Regions from separate parts of the Homo sapiens genome. Here all the other regions are linked to region 3. The links are contacts of gene promoters, found by promoter capture Hi-C in blood cells and fetal thymus (Javierre and others, 2016). All regions are on one chromosome and are shown on one strand. Each heading gives the region's core, a stretch centred on a gene start or on the middle of the fragment in contact. The rest is flanking DNA. Distances are from core to core; before and after follow the strand shown.

What was found. Contacts are between HindIII fragments. The CHiCAGO score rates a contact against its expected background, and 5 or more counts as called.
Region 1: a contact is called between a fragment that was not itself captured here and the fragment with the promoter of NKD1-AS1 in region 3, in 10 of 17 cell types (naive CD4 T cells, non-activated CD4 T cells, activated CD4 T cells and 7 more). The highest score is 12.1, in naive CD4 T cells.
Region 2: a fragment that was not itself captured here is called in contact with the fragment with the promoter of NKD1-AS1 in region 3 in 7 of 17 cell types (naive CD4 T cells, non-activated CD4 T cells, total CD4 T cells and 4 more); the score reaches 9.3 in naive CD4 T cells.
Region 4: a contact is called between a fragment that was not itself captured here and the fragment with the promoter of NKD1-AS1 in region 3, in 3 of 17 cell types (naive CD4 T cells, non-activated CD4 T cells and total CD4 T cells). The highest score is 6.9, in naive CD4 T cells.
Region 5: a fragment that was not itself captured here is called in contact with the fragment with the promoter of NKD1-AS1 in region 3 in 3 of 17 cell types (naive CD4 T cells, non-activated CD4 T cells and total CD4 T cells); the score reaches 7.1 in naive CD4 T cells.

Annotation. Positions count from the first base shown.
Region 1 is chr16:50,353,064-50,356,574 of GRCh38, forward strand. It overlaps BRD7 (bromodomain containing 7), which reads right to left. Exons shown (of 17, transcript NM_013263.5): 3 at 1,730-1,859; 4 at 1,362-1,419. Among named protein-coding and RNA genes, the nearest start is that of BRD7, 14 kb to the right of the region's middle. The HindIII fragment of the contact is 1,265 bases long and covers 1,391-2,655 here.
Region 2 is chr16:50,296,569-50,300,479 of GRCh38, forward strand. It overlaps ADCY7 (adenylate cyclase 7), which reads left to right. Exons shown (of 26, transcript NM_001114.5): 8 at 2,336-2,463. Among named protein-coding and RNA genes, the nearest start is that of MIR6771, 5.9 kb to the left of the region's middle. The HindIII fragment of the contact is 4,762 bases long and covers 253-3,911 here.
Region 3 is chr16:50,612,167-50,616,019 of GRCh38, forward strand. It overlaps NKD1-AS1 (NKD1 antisense RNA 1), which reads right to left and starts at 1,484. Exons shown (of 3, transcript XR_007065197.1): 1 at 1,425-1,484. All of the region lies in intron 4 of NKD1 (NKD inhibitor of Wnt signaling pathway 1), which reads left to right. The HindIII fragment of the contact is 2,641 bases long and covers 1-2,490 here.
Region 4 is chr16:50,317,338-50,320,824 of GRCh38, forward strand. It overlaps ADCY7 (adenylate cyclase 7), which reads left to right. Exons shown (of 26, transcript NM_001114.5): 26 at 1-798. BRD7 (bromodomain containing 7) reads right to left here. Exons shown (of 17, transcript NM_013263.5): 14 at 3,326-3,437; 15 at 2,911-3,054; 16 at 2,550-2,693; 17 at 1-1,929. The coding sequence ends at 1,874. Among named protein-coding and RNA genes, the nearest start is that of MIR6771, 26 kb to the left of the region's middle. RefSeq lists an enhancer at 1,757-2,956. The HindIII fragment of the contact is 7,497 bases long and covers 1-3,487 here.
Region 5 is chr16:50,279,927-50,283,704 of GRCh38, forward strand. The region is part of intron 1 of ADCY7 (adenylate cyclase 7); the gene reads left to right. Among named protein-coding and RNA genes, the nearest start is that of MIR6771, 11 kb to the right of the region's middle. The HindIII fragment of the contact is 2,081 bases long and covers 1,266-3,346 here.

The DNA.
Region 1 (3,511 bases), core at 773-3,272, 260 kb before region 3:
GTAAGTTCTTTTTTTTTTTTTTTTAGAAAAGATCTCATTCTGTTGCCCAGGCTGGAGTGCAATGGTGCTATCACAGCTCACTGTAGCCTCAACCTCTTGGGCTCAAGTGATCCTTCCACCTCAGTCTCTGGAGCTGGGACTACAGGTGTGTGCAACCACACTAGGATAATTTTTATTTTTTTGTAGAGATGGGGTCTCACTATGTTGCCCAGGCTGGTCTTAAACTCCTGGCCTCAACTGATCCTCCCACCTCAGCCTCCCAAAGTGTTGGGATTACAGGTGTGAGCTACTATACTCGGTTAACTTCTGATCTTAACTGCAAACCTGAACAGGCATTGAATACAGATTACATTAGAGAAAAATTATTTACAATGTGTTCTGGGTTGACTTAAGTTCAATACAATGAAAGAAAGTCCACTGTAAAAATGTATGATCTACAACCATAAACCCTTTGCAAATAATGGAAATATCTTTGAGCTGAAAATTTAAACTCTGAGTAGAGAGATATCAAAATAAATATATTTTATTTATTTATTTATTTATTTTTTGAGACGGAATCTTGCTCTGTTGCCCAGGCTGGAGTGCAGTGGTGCAATCTCGGCTCACTGCAAGCTCCATCTCCTGGGTTCACACCATTCTCCTGCCTCAGCCTCCCAAGTAGCTGGGACTACAGGCGCCCATCACCATGCCTGGCAATTTTTTTTTTTTTTTTTTTAAGTACAGATGGGGTTTCACCATGTTAGCCAGGATGGTCTCAATCTCCTGACCTCGTGATCTGCCCGCCTCGGCCTCCCAAAGTGCTGGGACTACAGGCGTGAGCCACCACACCCGGCCCAAAATAAATATTTTAATAAAGATTGAGTTATTCTTTTCCCTTTTAAGAACTCAACAGTAGCTTAATCTAGGCACTGAAATTTTTAGAACCAATTTCTGCATTTAAAAGAAGGCCATAATTCCTATTTATGGTGTTTTATTTTTTCTCCCATACTTAATAATTGCTAAACATTTGTGGCATGATAAGCATTGTACAAATACATAGAAGGTATTTCCATCTATTAGCAAAGTGGAAATATCTGTATTGTTTATTCCTGGCTTAAAGTTTTAACATCAGAAATTACTTTAGAGACAGAAATTTGTCATTAAAAGTATTATGTAACACCCTTCAAGTTGCCAGGGAAACAAACCAAATAAAGAATATCTAAAAGTTAGCCTAGCCTCTTGGAGTACTTCTGCTGCCAGGCAAAATATTTATCATTCACTTTAAAATCACGTATGTTTGGAGTTAGGCACAAATGTGGTTTGGATCCTACACATCTACCATTTTAATTTCTATGTTATAAAAATATTGGAAAAACATTTACCTCTGCAATTGTCTCATCAGTTGATTCAAAGCTTCTTGAAGGGGTGTCTGTTCTACTTCTAAAGCAAAGAAGAAGGGAAAAGGGTATTTTAAAAAGGAGTATTCTAGAGAGTATTATTTACTAGATCATTTTCTACAACCATTATTAAATATCTCATACAGAAATTCCATTTATCTTAAAAATATATTGAAGTTTGAGAGTATTAATCCAAAATTGAAGCTAATTTAAAGCTCTTATGCAGTTTGAGAGAAAAAACTTAAAAATTCAATCACAAAGCTCCAACTTAGAAGCTAAAACCCCACCATTTTCCTGAGCTATAATGATTTCAGCCTCCTCATTCAGGATAGTTAATTCAGAGTTATTCCAACCTTCTTGTTTGGCTAAAGAGCTTGTGAGAGGCTTCTCAGGAGGCAAGTCTAATCTCACAGGGGCGTGACACTGGAGATCTTTTTCTGCCTCATTCTCCACCCGGTCTCGATCTCGCTTCTTTTTATCCTCCTAAATGGAACAAAGGGAGATAATTTAGAAATATTTCAGAACCAATATCTTTAAATACATAAATCATTTTAAGGGGTAAAAAGACATCATTGTAAAGAAAATATTCTTAATAACAAGCTCAATGTACTTTACTGCCATCTACTGGAAAAGGAGAGAATAATACGTTCACGAAGGAAAAAACAAAGGGGGTCTCTATGCCAGAAATAACCAGTTAGAAAAACAATACTATCCAAAAAAGCAACATAGTGTATATAGAAATAAATCTAATAAAAGATACCCAAAACCTTTTGGGAAAAACTGTGAAACATTACTGAAGGTCACAGAAGGCCTGAATAAAGGAGATATACTATGTTCATGAATTCAGAGTCAATCCTCTCTCAAGTTATCAATACATTCGATGTAATGCCAATCGAAATTTAAAAACAAAAATTTCCATGGAATTCAACAAGCCAATTGCATTAATTTACCTCGAAGAGTGAACGATTAAGAACACAATAGTTTTGAAAAAGGTCAGAGTAAGATGATACGTCTTACCAGATATTATTTGTATAACGTGATAATAAGACAATGTGGGTCTGACACACAGACAAATAAGCCAACAGAAGAGATCAGAGCCCAGAAACAGACCCATGTACATAGAATAATCTTAGTATATCACAGAGGTGACATTATAAGTCAATGACAAAAGGGTGGTGCTGAGACAACTGTTACCTGAAAAGAGAAAATAGAATTTGAGCTCTACTTCATGCCATACACAAAAGTGAATTCCAGATAAAGACTTAAATGTACAAAGCAAAGCTTCAGAACTTCAGATAAAAGAAAAGCATCTTTAAGACCCAAGAGTAGAAAAAGACTTTCTTAAAAAGATATAAAATGAATAAATTTTAAAGGAAAACCTTGATAAATTTGATATTAAGTTGATAAATTTTGGTACCTCAACAAAATCCATGAACCAAGTTAAAAATCTAACGATAGACTGAGATAAAGTACTTGAAACACAACTTATAAAACATTAAGGATTCCATGAAGAGCATCTATAAATCTATGCAAAAAGGCAAAAAATCCAAAAAAGAAATAGATAAGTGATATCACAGGTAACTCACAGAATAAGAAATGTGAAATGTTGAGAACATGAGAACTAGCTCAAGCTCCCTAGAACTTGGGTAATTATAGATTTAAAAACTAGAAGGCATTTCGCCTCTCTTTGGCAACATTTGTCTGAAATGTCAAGTTTTGATAAAAATGTAGAGAAATGGGATTTTCATACCTTGCAATTGGGTGAATAGGAACAATCCTTAGCAGAGCAATTAGCAATATCTAGCAAAGCTAGCAAAGCCTTTAACCTACTTCTCAACTGCTACTCTCTGTGCATATACCAGAGAAATTTCCTGTCGTATGGTCTACATGGAGACTTGTAAGAGATTACTGCAGCATTGTTTAAAATAGTAAAAAATAGGAATAATCCAATGCCTATTAAAAGGAAAATAGATTAATAAATTGTGTCATATTTACATAACAGGTAATGTAAATGAGCTAAAATTGTATTGTATCAACATGGATAACATTCAGAAACAATGTCTGAAGAAAAGTTGCAGAACAATTACTGTTACAAGCTATGTATGAAAATGTGTAAGCATACATTGTTTACAGAT
Region 2 (3,911 bases), core at 1,384-3,883, 310 kb before region 3:
GATGGTCTTGATTTCCTGACCTTGTGATCCGCCTGCCTCGACCTCTCAAAGTGCTGGGATTACAGGTGTGAGCCACTGCGCCTGGCCAGAATTTGTAAGAGCCCCGCAGGTGTCTCTGTGGGCAGAGAATCAATGGTCTAGAACTTGATGGGAGGCAAGTTATGACTTCACACTGGGAAGAATTTTTCATGATCAGAGCTACTCAATCCCAGGAGGGACTGGAAGTGGGCTCCCTGTTGCAGGGGGTAACCAAGCTTCTACAGGATTGCACTGGTCAGGGATGCTCTGGAAAACTGTCCCATCCTGGGGATTGTGGACTGAGTGACTCAGAGGGCCTGTCTAGCCTGGAACCTTCCTTCAGGATCTGCATGGCTTCTGAACCAGCAGCTGGGAGCCCCAGAGGTTGGGCCTCATGTGAGGCAGGGGCCCTGGGCTCGGGCCACAGCTGGCCCTTTCCTTACCATAAAGCCCACACAGAGGGTCCCTTGCCCTTGGACACAGTCTTCCCTCTCCAGCAGGCCCAGGAGGCGTGGCCCTATTGCACAGATGGGGAAAGGGAGGCCATGGCAGGTGCCAGCTTCCCAGTCAGAGCATCTAATCTCTGGGCAGAGTTGGGCAGGGCTGGTCCCAGCCTTTTCTCCTATCAACAATCAGATTCCAGAAGTGTAAGCTCTTTCCAAGAGCCAGGGCCTCCTCTCTCAGAGGCATACAAGTCACACCTCCGCACAAGACCCAGCTCCCCAACTCCAAGTGTCAGAGACACAGGGGACTGTCAGCCGGTGGAGCAGCCGGGGGAATGTGGCCTCTCCTACATCCCCGAGAGCTGGGCTGGGTCCATGGGCAGTCCTGTGCCTGGTCCGAGAGGAGATCAGGGTAGCTGGAGCCTAGTATCCAGGTCTGCCAAGATTGCCTGCTTTCTAGGAAAGCCACTGTCCTCTTGTCCTTGCAGTCACTCAGAACTCACTCAGCATGTGCCAGATGGGGCCCAGCAGGAAACATCTGGCACACGCTGAAACTGAGTAATTGGCGGAGGGCACAGGCCAGGGATGGTTCCCAGGCTGGGCAGGTGCAGGGGACCTGGAGGCAGGGCTGGTGCTGTGTCTGGGGCCTGGGTCTGTGATGGCTGATGGGCACAGAGTAGGGACGAGGACAGGATAGGCTCGAGTCCTGGAGACAGATGGTGTTCCAGGAGCAGGCCTAGCCCTCGTGAGCCTGCAGGACAGAGCCCTCTTAGCTCCCTCCTGGCCAGAAGCCAGAGCACAGGGCCACCTGCTGGGGCGTCCAGTCCGAGGGTCAGCTGAGTGGGGTAGAGGGTGGGGAGGGGAGAGCAGAGGCAGATGGCGCTCCTTCTTCAGCTCCCCTAAAGCCCCACCCATGAGGCCTCGGTGCATGTGGCCACCCTTGCTGAGGGCTTAAGGAGGGTCTGGTGACGCAGCAGTGCCTCAGATGAACCTCAGAGGGCTCTCGGGGGTCCCCTTCTCTCCCTGGGCCTTTTCCTATGAGTCCCCACCCTCGCCGCTCTCCTACTCTGCCCTCCCCATTCCCTCTTTCCTCTCTGCATTGATATCTTTCCTCCCCACCCCTAAGCCCTGTCAGCACAGCCACTGCTTGGGTGACCTTGAAACCTGCTGATCCCTTGGTGTGTACACCTGTGACCTCTGTCCTCACCCCCCACTCCTGCAGCCTCCTGGCTACCTCGCAGTCTCTTCCCCAGCTTTGTGGCCCCAGGGCTCCTGTGAGTCCTTGAGTACTCTTCCTGCAGAGACTGGCATGGCCGGCTCTCTCGGTTCCTCGGGGTCTTAGCTCAAATGTTTCTGATTCCAACTCTGAGAGGTCTTCGCTGGCCTCCTGGGAACATCACTTCCCTCCTGTGCCTTGGTTTTCTCCTTAGCCCCCATCACAGCTGGGCACACTGTTTTGTTTTTGTCTTTCTAGTTTAGTGCCCACCCCTCCTGCCTACGTGCAAGCTCCGTGGCTGCAGAGATTTGCATCTATTTTGTTCACTGCTGTGTCCCCTTGCCTGGCCTGGGGCCGGGTACTCAGTAGGCACTCAAACATTACCTGGGCAAATGAAACCAAGGCAGACCCCTCCCCGAGGCCCTTAGGAACACTCGTGTTCACCTCTGGTGCTTGCCTGGGGGTTCCTCCTGGGGAGGCCCCCATGTCGCTAAGCCTTTTGCCAGGCCCAGAAGTGGCTCCTGGTGACTGGACCCCAGGAGGCAAGCCCCCAGCCAGGAGAGAGCCGGGTGCACCCTGGAGGGTGGGGGGAGGCGGCTGTCGTGAGAGGTCCCAGCCCCACATCTTCCAGTGACCAGGCCCTTCCCTCACCCTGCAGGCCAACGAGTGCATGCGAATCAAGATCCTCGGCGACTGCTACTACTGTGTATCGGGCCTGCCCGTGTCGCTGCCTACCCACGCCCGGAACTGCGTGAAGATGGGGCTGGACATGTGCCAGGCCATCAAGTAGGTCCTGGGCGGGCCCAGGCCCTGGGTCCTGCCCTGTGGCGGACCCTCCTGGGCATGGTAGGGGATGTGTCATTCTCATGTCACAGATGGGGAAACTGAGGCTCGGGGGGTTGGGGGTGAAAGCAGCTTGCCTGGACCACCCAGCCTGCTGGAGGATTCAGACTTCATCTGTTTGCGTCCCTCCCTGTGGTGCTGCCTGTGACTCTGAGTCCCAGAAAGCATCTCCGGAGCTCAGAGCTGGGTGATGTGAGGTCAGGGCGGTGGGCTCCGCTCCCCTCAAGGATGGGGTCTTAGCAACAGCAGGAGGCTTCAGGGTAGGCAGCCGGGGGACCTTTCCGACCCAGGGGTCGACTCCAAGGCTCCATCTGCTTCCTGCTCCCCAGTGAAGATCCTGGAGTCAGGCTTGGTCCTGAGGCTGCGGGGAGACCCCCCGCTCCCCTCTAGGTCCCCTGTGGCTCTGAGCAGCTGGGGTCTGTGGGAGGAATTTGCCGAGAGGGCTGTATGGGGAGAGGGCCAGGCAGGCCCAGCCAGGCTGACCAGTGTGGGGCAGAGCAGGGCCCGGTGGGGCTGCCCGTCCTGGATATCAGGCCGTGTTCCAGCCTGTCCTTCTCCTGAAGTCCTGCCATAGGTGGCTGGTGTTGCCAGAAAGAAGCCTGGGCAGAGCTGGAGGGGCCTGGCCTGCACCACTGCCTGTGTGACCTCAGGCTGGCCCCTGCCCTGTAACAGGCGGAGGTTGTACAGGCCCTCGTGCACCTCTGGTTCCGACCCTGGAAGGCTTGGTCAGTGCCCAGCCTTGTTGGTGGACACGTGGTGCCGCTTGTCATGGGGACTCAGGCTCTGTTCCTGTCTTGGGCGTCCCCTGTGCCCCAAGGAAGCTCTCCCGTGGGGCTCTGCTCCTGTGCTCAGTGGTGCTAACAACTCCCAGGGCCCCTGCTTCCCAGGGATTGGGGGGGCATAGAAGGTGCCCATGGTCTGGGCCCCTGTGTTCCTTGTCTATGCTAGGTTTTGGGTGGTTCCTGGACCCCCTCTGTAGACGCCAGTAAACTTTATTTATTTATTTATTTATTTGAGATGGAGTCTCGCTGTGTTGCCCAGAGCGTATCTCGGTTCACCACAACCTCTGCCTCCTGGGTTCAAGCGATTCTCCTGTCTCAGCCTCCCAAGTAGCTGGGACTACAGGCGCCTGCTACCATGCCCGGCTAATTTTTATATTTTTAGTAGAGTCAGGGTTTTGCCATATTGGCCAGGGTGGTCTCAAAACTCCTGACCTCAGGTGATCTGCCTGCCTCAGCCTCCCACAGTGCTGGGATTACAGGCATGAGCCACCACGCCCGGCCCCCAGTAAACTTTTAAAACCCAGCCGGTGCTGCTGGGCAGGGAAAACACCCAGTGATGGTATTTTAGGTCCATCAACATGGGCTGTAGTGACTAGTTGGAATTCCTCC
Region 3 (3,853 bases), core at 234-2,733:
CCTCTGCCTCACTGAAAGCAGGTGACCCCTCCCTCCGGCCTCTCAGGCAGGACCTGTGTACCTGTGTTGGGGCCTGGGCCAGTCTGTCCAGGCTCCCAGGGGTCAGATGTTGGGCAAAGGAACTTGGGAGGCCTGTACTTCCTTTCATCTGTAGTTGGAAAACTGAAGCCCAGAGAGGGAAGTGACCTGTCCAGGGTCACACAGCAGACTGAGAACAGAATCTGGCCCCTCACTCCTCACCATTCAGTATGTGCTGGGCATTTGCTGCAGCTAGGGGCTCTGCTGGGCCCTGGGTTCACAGGCACGAGCAAGGTAGGCAGGCCCAGCAGTCACGACATTCACAGGAGGGAGGCAGGGATGAATACATAAATCTGCGAAGGAGCATGGAAGTTTCTAGTAGTGGTTCTCTGCTAAGACGTAAAACCCAGGGAGAGGTAGAGTGAGGAGGCTTTTCTGAGAAGGTGATGTTTCAGCTGAGATGCAGATGCCAGGAAGGAGCCAGCCATGGAAGAATGTAGGGGGAGAGCAGCTATGAGTGAGCAGAACCCCAGAGTGGAGGGAACTTGGTGTTTGGGGAAGAACAAAAAGGAGGCCGATGTGGCATCAGGAATGAGAGTGGGGTGGTCGGCAAGTGTGGGACCACGCCCTTAGGTTGCGTGGTTCTGCCCAGATGGTTGGGTGGGTGACTGCTGGATTCTGACCTCTGTTTTAAGAAGTTAATTCTGGCTTCTGGGAGGGACTGCCCATGGGCAGGGAGGAAGAGGGCAATGAAACCAGGAGGTGACTGCAGGGTCGCAGGCGAGAGGAGATGGTGCTGGCCTAGCCTGGGAGCTTGGGGCTGGGGAGAGGTCCATGGGGCTGGAGGTTGGAGCTGGTGAGAAGGGGGTTGAGGGAACGAGAGAGATCAGGGATGCATCTTAGACTTTTGGTTTCAGGAACTAAGGATTTGGCGGTGTCACTTCTGAGGTGGAGGTTTTGGCGGGTGACCATCAAGCCTCCCGTTTTTGGACCAGTTGGGTTCAAGATGCCCATTTAACATCCAAGGAGAGGTACCGAGGAGGCCGTGGGATACCTGGTGATTGGAGCTTGGGGTTCAAGGAGCAGTTGGGCAAGAAACAGAGAGAGAGAGCGAGTCAAGACTTCTCAGGAAGTAGCCACGGACATTGCCCGGGACTCTCGGGCAAGGCTCCTCAATACACAGGGCTGGCGGTGGCTTCCCAGGAAGGCTGGGAGGAAGAGGAGTTCATGGGAAGGCAGCAGGGACCCCCAGATGGAGGGGCAGGTGCCCATGCCCCGCCGGCTCCTCTCCCTCAGTTCAGAGCCTGTCCTGTCGGGGGGTGTCAGCGGCCCTGACTCTCCACTCCCCTACAGTCCCCCCAGAAGCTGAGTTGCAGCGGTGACAGAGAACAAGCGGACTTTGTTACCTTGGCAGTTTCTCTCAAGTCTGCTCCTCATAAAAGCTCAGCTGGAACAGTGGAAATTCTGACTTGTGTCAGATACCGGAGAGGCTTTAATAGTTTCAAGTAGCTCGGGGTTAGATTGTAAAAGCCGAATTTCATCACATGTTTTAACTTGGGTGGGGGCGGGCGGGGGAGAGTGGAAGGGACGTGATATTTTTAGCCCACAGAAGGCTTTTTCTCCCCTTTCCCCTTCTCTCCCGGGGCTTCCCCCTCCCTCCCTGAACAGATGTTTCGTCTCAATCCTGTTCAGATGTCAAAGCCGAGTGGCCACCAGCCTTATGCTCTGATGAGGAAAAAAAGGCCAGAATGTTATTTGTTGAGAAGGATTTCCTCCCCTACCCGCTTTTCCCCCTTTTTTGTTTCCCCTCAGTTACAATTGGTCCATAAGCAAAATCTAGTGGCAGTAAAATGCAGCTGGGAGGCAGGATGGTGGAGAAGAAGTCCCTGGTGGCATTTCTGGTCTCAGGAAGGGGCAGACACCCACAGGTGAAAAAGCTGGAAATCACCCTAGAGGGACTGCCCTGGGTGAGTGAATTACTGCTGTGGTGCTGGTGCTGGTGGTTTTTCCTAAAAAGCAGGATCTCAGAGAGACGGATTTGTTAAGTCAGGATTCTTTCGGTTCTTTTGGAAACTCACTTAAACTTTTGGCTCATGAAATTGAAAAATCCTAGGGTAGATCTTGCCTAAAAAGGCCTGTTTGGATTCTGGAGCTAAAACCATGTCATGGACACATGCACGCACACACACACACTCACACACACACGTATACTCACACATTCACACACATGTCTCGCTCGCTGCCCCTCTCTCTCCCTCTCCATCATCTCTCCCTCTGTCCCCTGGTGGCTTCTCCCCCACAGGGGGCAAGGGTGGCAGTTCCCAGCTCTGGGCACTCCCATCCTATGAGCACAGCCCTGTCAGGTGGAAGAAAGTTCCCAGGTCACAGGGGTTCTTGCACATGTTGGACTCACTTTATTGACCACTTTACTGGTCACTTGACCAGGGTAGATCTAGGTTTTATGGGACCTGAAGCTTTCTGGGGCCAAACCAAAATAAATATCTCACCAACTCAGTCTCTCCTTAGCTCATGTCCAGAAATGCCTGTATTTCCCCTAGTATCACCTCACACAGGCAAAGGATGTCAGAATGGTTAGATGACAATCTTAATAGATTGAGGATAAAATGCCTAATTTGGAAAATGTTACAAATACAAACACATATGACCACATAAACACCTTGCAAAGACCCATCCTGACTTGGAAAGGGCCCGTGTAGGTGAGAGGGCCCAGAAGCCTAGCTTCATTAGCTTCTTCATAAACTCTTCTTTCATACTGACCTAGGACCAGCCACGTGGCCTTCAGGATGAAACAAGCTGGGTCAGGTAGGGGTACTGAGTGCAGTGTGACCCTGGAGTGGGATCAGTCTCCATAAACTAGATAGACTGAGAGTGGGGGATGAGTAGCTCTGGGGAGGAAAGCCAGATGCTATCATCAGAAGGAGGAGAAGGATTGCTGGACAGGCAGGAACAGGTGTCAGCTATTGTGGTCTGAGAGAGTGGACAGGCCAGTGGTTGAGGAGTTGGGAAACTGGGATTTAGTTCTCTTTGTTCCACAACTTCTGGGTTCAAATCCTGGTTCTGCTACTTACCGTTGTTTCATTTTGATGATGCTGCTGATGATGCAGCACCTATAGTGTGATAGACACTGCACTATAGACATATATATCTCAGGGTATAGATATTGGGCTGATGGAAGATTCTGATGATTAAATGAGTGATATAATGATGGTGTAATAAGGCTCACTGAGCAGGGAAGCCTAACCTAGCCCTGAGGGTGTGACAGCATGCTGCTCAGAGGAAGGGAGGCTTAAACTGAAGACCTGAAGGATGAGTGGGAATTGCAGAGCTGGAAAGAGTGTTCTTGGCAGGGATAACAGCGTGAGAGCATGGCAGGCTCAGAAAAGGGAAAGCAGTTCCACAGAGAGACGGGACTGAGAGGTGGCAGCAGCCGGGTCGTGGAAGCCTTTGGACCCCTCCTTAGGGGAAAGGGGGCCACTGGAGGGGTTTAAGCAGGGAAACGGCATAATCAGTTTTGGTTTTTAAGCTCAGTTTCCTCTTTTGTACGATGCCAACAGTAGCACACCCTGCACAGTGTTAAGAGGACTTAATGGAATAATGTGTGGTACTACTAACTTCACCAGCCTCTCCATGCAGCCCACCACAGTATGTGGCTGTGTTTACAAACAGAGGTGGGATCGCTAGGACCCTCATTCCCTAAGGAGAGCCTGATACAGATACTGCAAGAAACCATTTGGCCTGGAATGCACATATGATATCTTTCTCTTTTTACTGGCAGCAGATTTACCCGCCTAATTATATTTGGCAGAGGCTAATA
Region 4 (3,487 bases), core at 125-2,624, 290 kb before region 3:
TACTATACTGAAATCTGTGCTCTCAAGATCTAGCAGTGACCAGGGCTGCCCGGCGGGGGCTCTCCTGGCAAGTCAGGAAGGTTTCTGTTGCTAATATAACATAGAAACACATTAGTGCACTGGGCCTCTCTGAGGTCAGCATATTTGTACTCTTGGAATATTTGTTTTTTTCTTCAGTAACAACAGAAACCCCAGTTGGGAGTTTAACAAATAACTGACTACCACTCACTCATGCATTTTTATTTCCAATTAAAGCAAAGCACTGTGCTGTGCTCAGATAATAATAGTTTGTAAGTAAAAGTTTTTAGTTTTCAGTGTTCAGGTTATAGAATATAACTGACCATAAAAATTACCTGCAGGTATTTTCTTTTTATGAACTTGTTTTTAAATTACCAAGTAATTACTGGTGTCATTTTGTTTTATGACAGACACACGTATCTAACAAACAAACAAACAGTGACCTTCTCCATGGGTCAAGGACTTCCTTACAATTTCTCCTGAGTTAACTTTTGTGAAAATAATACCTAAGGTTTTCTGGCTTATTGAGGAAATTTCCTAACAAACAAACAAACAAACAAACAGAAGAGAAGATCATTAACCACTGTATACTTTGTGTATATAATAGGTCAGTGTAAAGAAATATGATTTGAGGTGGTGCATGCAAGTAACTAGGGTTTATTCTATATAATGAATATTTATAGATCTGTAACATTTGTTTCAAAATGCTGTTTCATTTTTATAAAGTACCAGTGTTTAGCTGCTTTTTATACATTAAATTAGCAATTTGAAAAACTCAAATATCTGAAGGTATTTTATTTTCGTGGTCCTCATGAACTCACTAGAGATTAAAAGTAGACTCAAACAACTTGAAAATTTGACTCTTTTAGCATAAGATTTTAAGTCTTTTGAGGGAATTAATTTTCCTTTACCCTATTTGTTCTTCCTAAATACTAATTAATTTTCAAAGTCAGGAAAATAATAGAAATCAAATGGCTTCCTGCCTGGGTGATTTATAGAAGGATTGTATAAGGGCCTTCAAACTTAATTTGTTCACTGAACAAGGCTATCTATCTATCTATCTCCATCCTGATTTTTTTCCCTTGTGTATAACAGGTTCTATACCGATTCAGCAAAATCACCATTTATCTCAGCTTGCTGATAAAAGGGGGCCATGAATCTTGTGGTCTCCTACTTAGAGTTCAACTCCTTGGGTACTTGACCTTTGTATTTCAGATAAACAGTAAGTAAAGTAGAAATGTCACCTTTTGGTAATCTGGTAATTCCCTGATCTATTCAAGGATGACTTAGTTTATCTTATTTGGCTTATTACTTTGCTATAGTACTAAGTAACTCCTCTTTCTTTAAAAAACGGAAAAAACCAAAAAAGAACACTAGCCATGTGACAGTGCTATAAAACTCCCAGTGTGCTTTTGTCAGGGGTGGGTGGGAGGTGCCTAATTACCCATACAAGGGCATCATTCCCACTGGGTATGCAGGGGCAGAACCACAGTAGTAAATTCTAAAATTATTTCAAGTATGTTCGTATAACGGAAAATCTCACTGGATGGGGCCGTTTTAAGAACGCTTCTTAGTGATGATCCTGTCTGTGGGACATAAGGAAGAAGCATTGGAAGGCACTATTTTGAAAGAATGCTGCACAGGTATGGCAACAGCCCCAAGCACATTCCTTCCTCACGAGTCCCAGGTCCAGCTTTATTACCTAATACAAGTCCAACCTCTGGAACATCCAAATTCGCTGTTCCAAAGTTTAATTAAAAACACAATTTACAAATATTTAATATCTTCTGAAAAGCATTTCTAAGTTAAGAATGAAAAAGTATGTACATAATATATAATCAAATACCAGGCAGCCTCAACTTCCACCAGGTCCACACTCAGCAACATCCGTCTTTTTAGGTTCTTCAGTGTCTGAAAGAAAAAGACATCACTTAATTCAACATTGTTTTTACCTTTTAATTAAAAAGGGGACATGAAAGTCAAGCTGCCATCCAGAAGCATAACTGCTGAGAGCCCTTCTTCACCACATCCAAGGCTGAAGACTACGCGCATTATCAGGTGATCATTGTGGCTCTTCTGCACACAGGAAATCTTTATTAATTCTTTAGACAAGATAAAAAGAAAACTAAGAGTAGTTTATACATTAAAAACAGATAAATGTTCCTTTTACAGTTGACCCTTCTTATCCATGGGTTCCACATCTGCAGATTCAACCAACTGCCAATTAAAAATATTTGGGGAAAAAACCCAATTAAAAAAATACAACAAACAATGAAAAAAATATAAAAAATACAGTCTATTAACTACATTCTATGAAGTATATAAGTAGAGATGATTTGAAGTATACTGGAGGTTGTGTGTAGGGTATAGGCAAATACCTTTTATGTTAGGGACTTGAGCATCTACAGATTTTGCTATCTTTGTGGGGTAAATACCAAATCCGAGGTCCTGATACCAATCTCGGGCAGACACTGAGGGATGACTATAGTCACCATAGCTTTCTGCTTTCCCAGAGAAAACAGGGCACGTACCTTCTGTCAAATCCACAAAGTTGTTTTCCATGACGGGGGAAGGAATGGAAATCCCCATTGCTTTTCGAACTCCATACGTGCTTACGATATCACCTGGAGTTACTTGCTGTGCAAGTTCTTTAAGATTATTGGTCACTTGTTCAGCTAAAAAGAAAAACAAAGTTCCAGATACTAAAGCATGGTTCCTTTAGATAGAGGCATCCCAAAGAACAGTAAATGTACACATGCAAAGAAAACAAAACAAAAAAACTGTCCCTGGGATTCACATCAGCATTACTCTATAGTGGCATCACCACTGTACTCAAGAAGTTTTTTCTTTGAAGCATCCCGTGACTCTCCTCTTATGGGAGGCAAAACATACCAAGATGCATTTCTCTGTATGAGGGACCCAAGAGACAGATCATGTTCGGAGGGGGTCTGGTGCTCAAACGTTCATTCTGGGCTTCCTGGAGTTCCCTGAGCAATCTGGTGGTCTCATCAAGTTTCTTCTGGAATATTTCAGCTTCTGTGTGGTAAGAAAACAGACACACTTCTGTTTGATCTTGTGCAGTAAACCGAATCCTAGGCTCTAGGGCTTTGCTAATTATTGGTTAGCCTTCTCCCTTCAAAAGAGTAATCCGCTTGAAATGACATCAACACGCCATACCCATTCATTTAACTTGGTAAGCCAAGATCTTCCTGTGGTGAATGGCTATGTTAATCTGTACTTATGAGACATGAAATCTTGACTGCCTACATCATGCAGTGTTTCAATCAAACCCTCTGGAGACACTTACCTTCAGAGTCAAAAACTTCAACTGGAACGCCAAAATTTGTTACTGCTTTCAGCGCTATGAGCCTGTCTTGAGTACTGGAGTCCAAACGCCCTGGTGGCTCTACTTCTGTAATCTGCTTCAAAAGGAAAAACAGGCAATTACTGGCGCTTGCTAAGCCACAGC
Region 5 (3,778 bases), core at 1,056-3,555, 330 kb before region 3:
GTTTTTGGTAACAAGATGATGCTGGCCTCATAGAATGAGTTAGGGAGGAGTCCCTCTTCCTCAATTTTTTTGAATAGTTTCTGTGGGAATGGTACTAGCTCTTCTTCGTATATCTGGTAGAATTCAGCTGTGAATCCATCAGGTCCTGGCCTTTTATTGGTAGGCTATTTATTACTAATTCAATTTAGGAGCTCATTATTGATCTGTTCAGGGAATCAGTTTCTTCCTGGCTCAGTCATGGGAGGATTGTGTGTCCAGGAATTTATCCATCTCTTAGGTTTTCTAGTTTTTGTGTGTAGAGGTGTTTGTAGTAGTTTCTGATGGTTGTTTTTTATTTCTGTGGGGTCATTAGTAACATTCCTGTAGTCATTTCTAATTGTGTTTATCTGGATCTTTTCTCTTTTCTTCTTTATTAGTTTAGCTAGTGGCCTATTTTATTAATTTTTTCAAAAAAAAAAAAAACAACTCCTGGATTCGTTGATCTTTTGAATGGTTTTTTGTGTCTTGATTTTCTTCAGTTCAGCTCTGATTTTTGTCATTTCTTGTCTTCTGCTAGGCTTGGGGTTGATTTGTTTTTGCTTCTCTAGTTCTTTCAGTTGTGAAGTTAGGTTGTTAATTTGAGATCTTTCTAAGTTTTTGATTCGGACATTTAGTGCTATGAATTTCCCTCTTAACACTACCCTAGCTGTGTCCCAAAGAATCAAAGAACAACTTTCTACCCATCCCTAGAAGTAGCTCTCTGGGGCCAGGTGAGAACATCAGCCTTTTCCCTCAGTTTTTCTCCAGTTGCCTATCCTTTTCATTAACTGATTCAGCCTCCACCCCCAGCCCAGTCCCAACTAGGCCAGAGCTGGCCTCAGAGGTCTGACACAGCCCCTCCTTTGCAAGAGGGGAAACTAAGGCACAGGTCAGGCAAGAGACTTGTTTAGGGTCACAGAGCAGGTTGGTGGCTAAGCTGGGACTGGAATGCAGGTTTCTGGTCCCCAAGACTGATCAGCAGCCTGTGCCCTGGGAGTGGGAACAAAGTCAGCCTGGGGGTGCTTGGGGGCTATGGAGGGGGAGCAGGGTTGGCTGGGGGCTCATGCCGTTGGGGAATTTCAGTCTTTGCCCCTGCTCGGCAACTTTGCAGGCTGTTAGGAGATGCGGTGGGGGGCCTGCCCACTCTGCACCTGCCTCTCCCTGGACCCCATGGTTGGGCTCTGACCCTGCAGGGCTTCCTCTGACACTAAGCGTGCCTTCTTGGCCATTTGCCAATTTGTCTTGCAAGCTTGGCCTGTTGGACATCATGACCTGTGCAGACAACCTGGTTATCAGCACCCCCAGTTTACTGATGAGGAAACTGAGGCCAGAGTGTGCAGGCGACTGCTATTCACAGGCCATTGGTAGCAGAGCTGGGATTGGGTGCAGGCATCCTCCCAGAGGCCAAGCGTAGCTGGGAGAGGTGTGCTGTGGCAGGTAAGGCAGGTGCGGCAGGTGCAGCAGGTGCTTCCCGATCTTGAGGGAGGCCCTTTCTTCATCTGCCCTCATCCTTTGGCTGTGGCGCCCTCCTCCCTCACCCATGCCACTCTGCGTGCTTCCCCACCCTGGGCCTGGTGCAGGATTCTGGCTGGCTACCCTGCTCGGCCATTCACGTCACAGGTGTTTGCCAGGACCAGCTGCGGGACACACACACACAGATCCCACCACGACAGTTTGGCAAGTCAGGGGCCGGGATATTGGACCCACACTGGGAAGGCCTCTTGGTACGGGAGGTGCCTGGGAGAGCAGGGCATGGGGGCCACAGGGCTCTGGGGACAGAGAGGGCTGGGCTTGGGGGGATGGGACCTTGAATACCAGCAACATTGAATCCCTGGGTCCCACGAGGTTTACTGGGGGCCTCTTAGGTCAGGCTTGCACTGGGCAGAGCAGCTGCTGGCTTCATGGAGCTCAGGGTCTCTTGAGAGAGTTCGCGTTAATATGAGATTCCCTTGGCAAATGAAAAATCTGCCTGAGACCCAGCCTACCAGGGGAGCCGAGAGCCGGCAGGACCGGGGGCGCGAGACGGAGCATGCAGGTTTTTTGTCTGGAGCTGCGTGGCGTCCCAGGCAGGGTGTGGGCCCAGGGGCCTGAGCGGGGCCTCTTCCCTGGAGGCTTCCATGCCCCCCTCACTCCAAGGTCCCCACTTCCCCTTTTTGAGGCCAACAGGGCCCCAAAGCAGCCCTGAGCCTGCTGAGGCTCGGCCGGAGGAAGCCAGGCTGTGGTTTCTGCCAACAGTGGCCGGGTGAGGAAGTGGGTGTCCTGTCTGCATCTGTGAAAGCTGGGGGTTTCTAGAACATACTCCCTGCAAGGGCTGTGGTTGTGCTGGGGACGCTGCCAGATCAGCTGGACTGGGGAAGGATTTTCCGAGCACCCAGGGACCTGGCCCTGCAGTTGCAGTATGGAGTCCCAGCCTCTTGCTTCCAGCAGGTCTTCTGGCTGGAGAACCTGGACCCAGCCAGCCAGTATTTGATAAGGAGACCACAGTCCTGCCTTAGTTGCAGGGAAGGGATAAGGGAGTGTGTGTGGGGTTGCTCAGCAGGCTTCCTGGAGGAGGAGGCCCTCCTGGAGTTCGCTGGCCTGAACTTGCTCCTGCAAGGCAGAGGGAAGTAATTCGATGGGGTCCCCTGAGCTCCCCACCTCTTGGTCATAGCTCTGTCCTGGGCCTTGTTTGTAGGGAAGAGGTTGGTGTTTTGGGATATTATGGGATTTCTGGATGCCAGCCCCATGAGGGTGATAGGGACCCCGGATATCCTGTGTTTAAATCCCAGCTTTTTTTTTTTTTCCAGACAGGATTCTCTATCACCCAGGCAGGAGTGCAGTGGCATGATCATAGTTCAGTGAATGTAGCCTTGACCTCCTGGGTTCAAGCAATTCTCCTGCCTCAGCCTCTCAAGTAGCTTGGACTACAAGTGTATGCCACCAAGCCTGGCTAATTAAAAAAAAAATAAACAACTTTTTATAGCGATGGGGTCTCATTATATTGCCCAGGCTGGTCTTAAACTCCTGAACTCCTGGCTGGGGCTGGGCTGTGGAGCCTGGAAAGTGTGATGGAGGGATGAGCGGGGCTGTCCCCTCCAAGACCCAGCTCCTTTCTGGAGGACTGGCTGTGTCTGCAGGGGCACACTCTTACCTCTGTGCTGACTGAGACCCTTCCAGTTGACTCTGAACCCACTGAGGGGCCACGGGTGCTTGTTAGACGCAACAAACTGGGTCCAGAAGCCTGATGTGGACTTTGAGACTCTTGGTTGCGAGTGACAGAAGCTCAAACTGGCTGAAGCTGAAAGGGGCATTGCTTGTCCCATGTGGTTAAATATCTAGAGGTTGCGTAAGCTTCAGGCACAGCTGGCTCCTGTGACCCCAGGAGGTGTTGCCAGGCCCCTGTCTTGTGCCAGTTCTCCATGTTGGTGTCAGTTTCAGGTGGGCTCTCTCCTTGTGGTGGCTCGGGTGTCTGCTGACAGTGTCAGGTCACCGACAAAAGAGAACGCCTCTTTCCCTGGGTCAGCAGAAGTCCAAAGAGAGCCTTCACTTCCCAGGCCTGTGGCATTAGGGCTTGAGAGGGACTTTGCTGATTGGCCACACTGGGGTCATGTGGCCCATGAACCAGGGTACTGAGGGTCGGGAGAAGGGACATTGCACAGCAGAAGCATGAAATACCCTCCTCCCATGTGGACACCTTCCCCACAGGGGAGTCCCCTCTTCTTTAAAATGGGGCTGCTCACCCTGCTCTACCACTGGGGTGGTCGTGAGGTGAGAGTAAGTA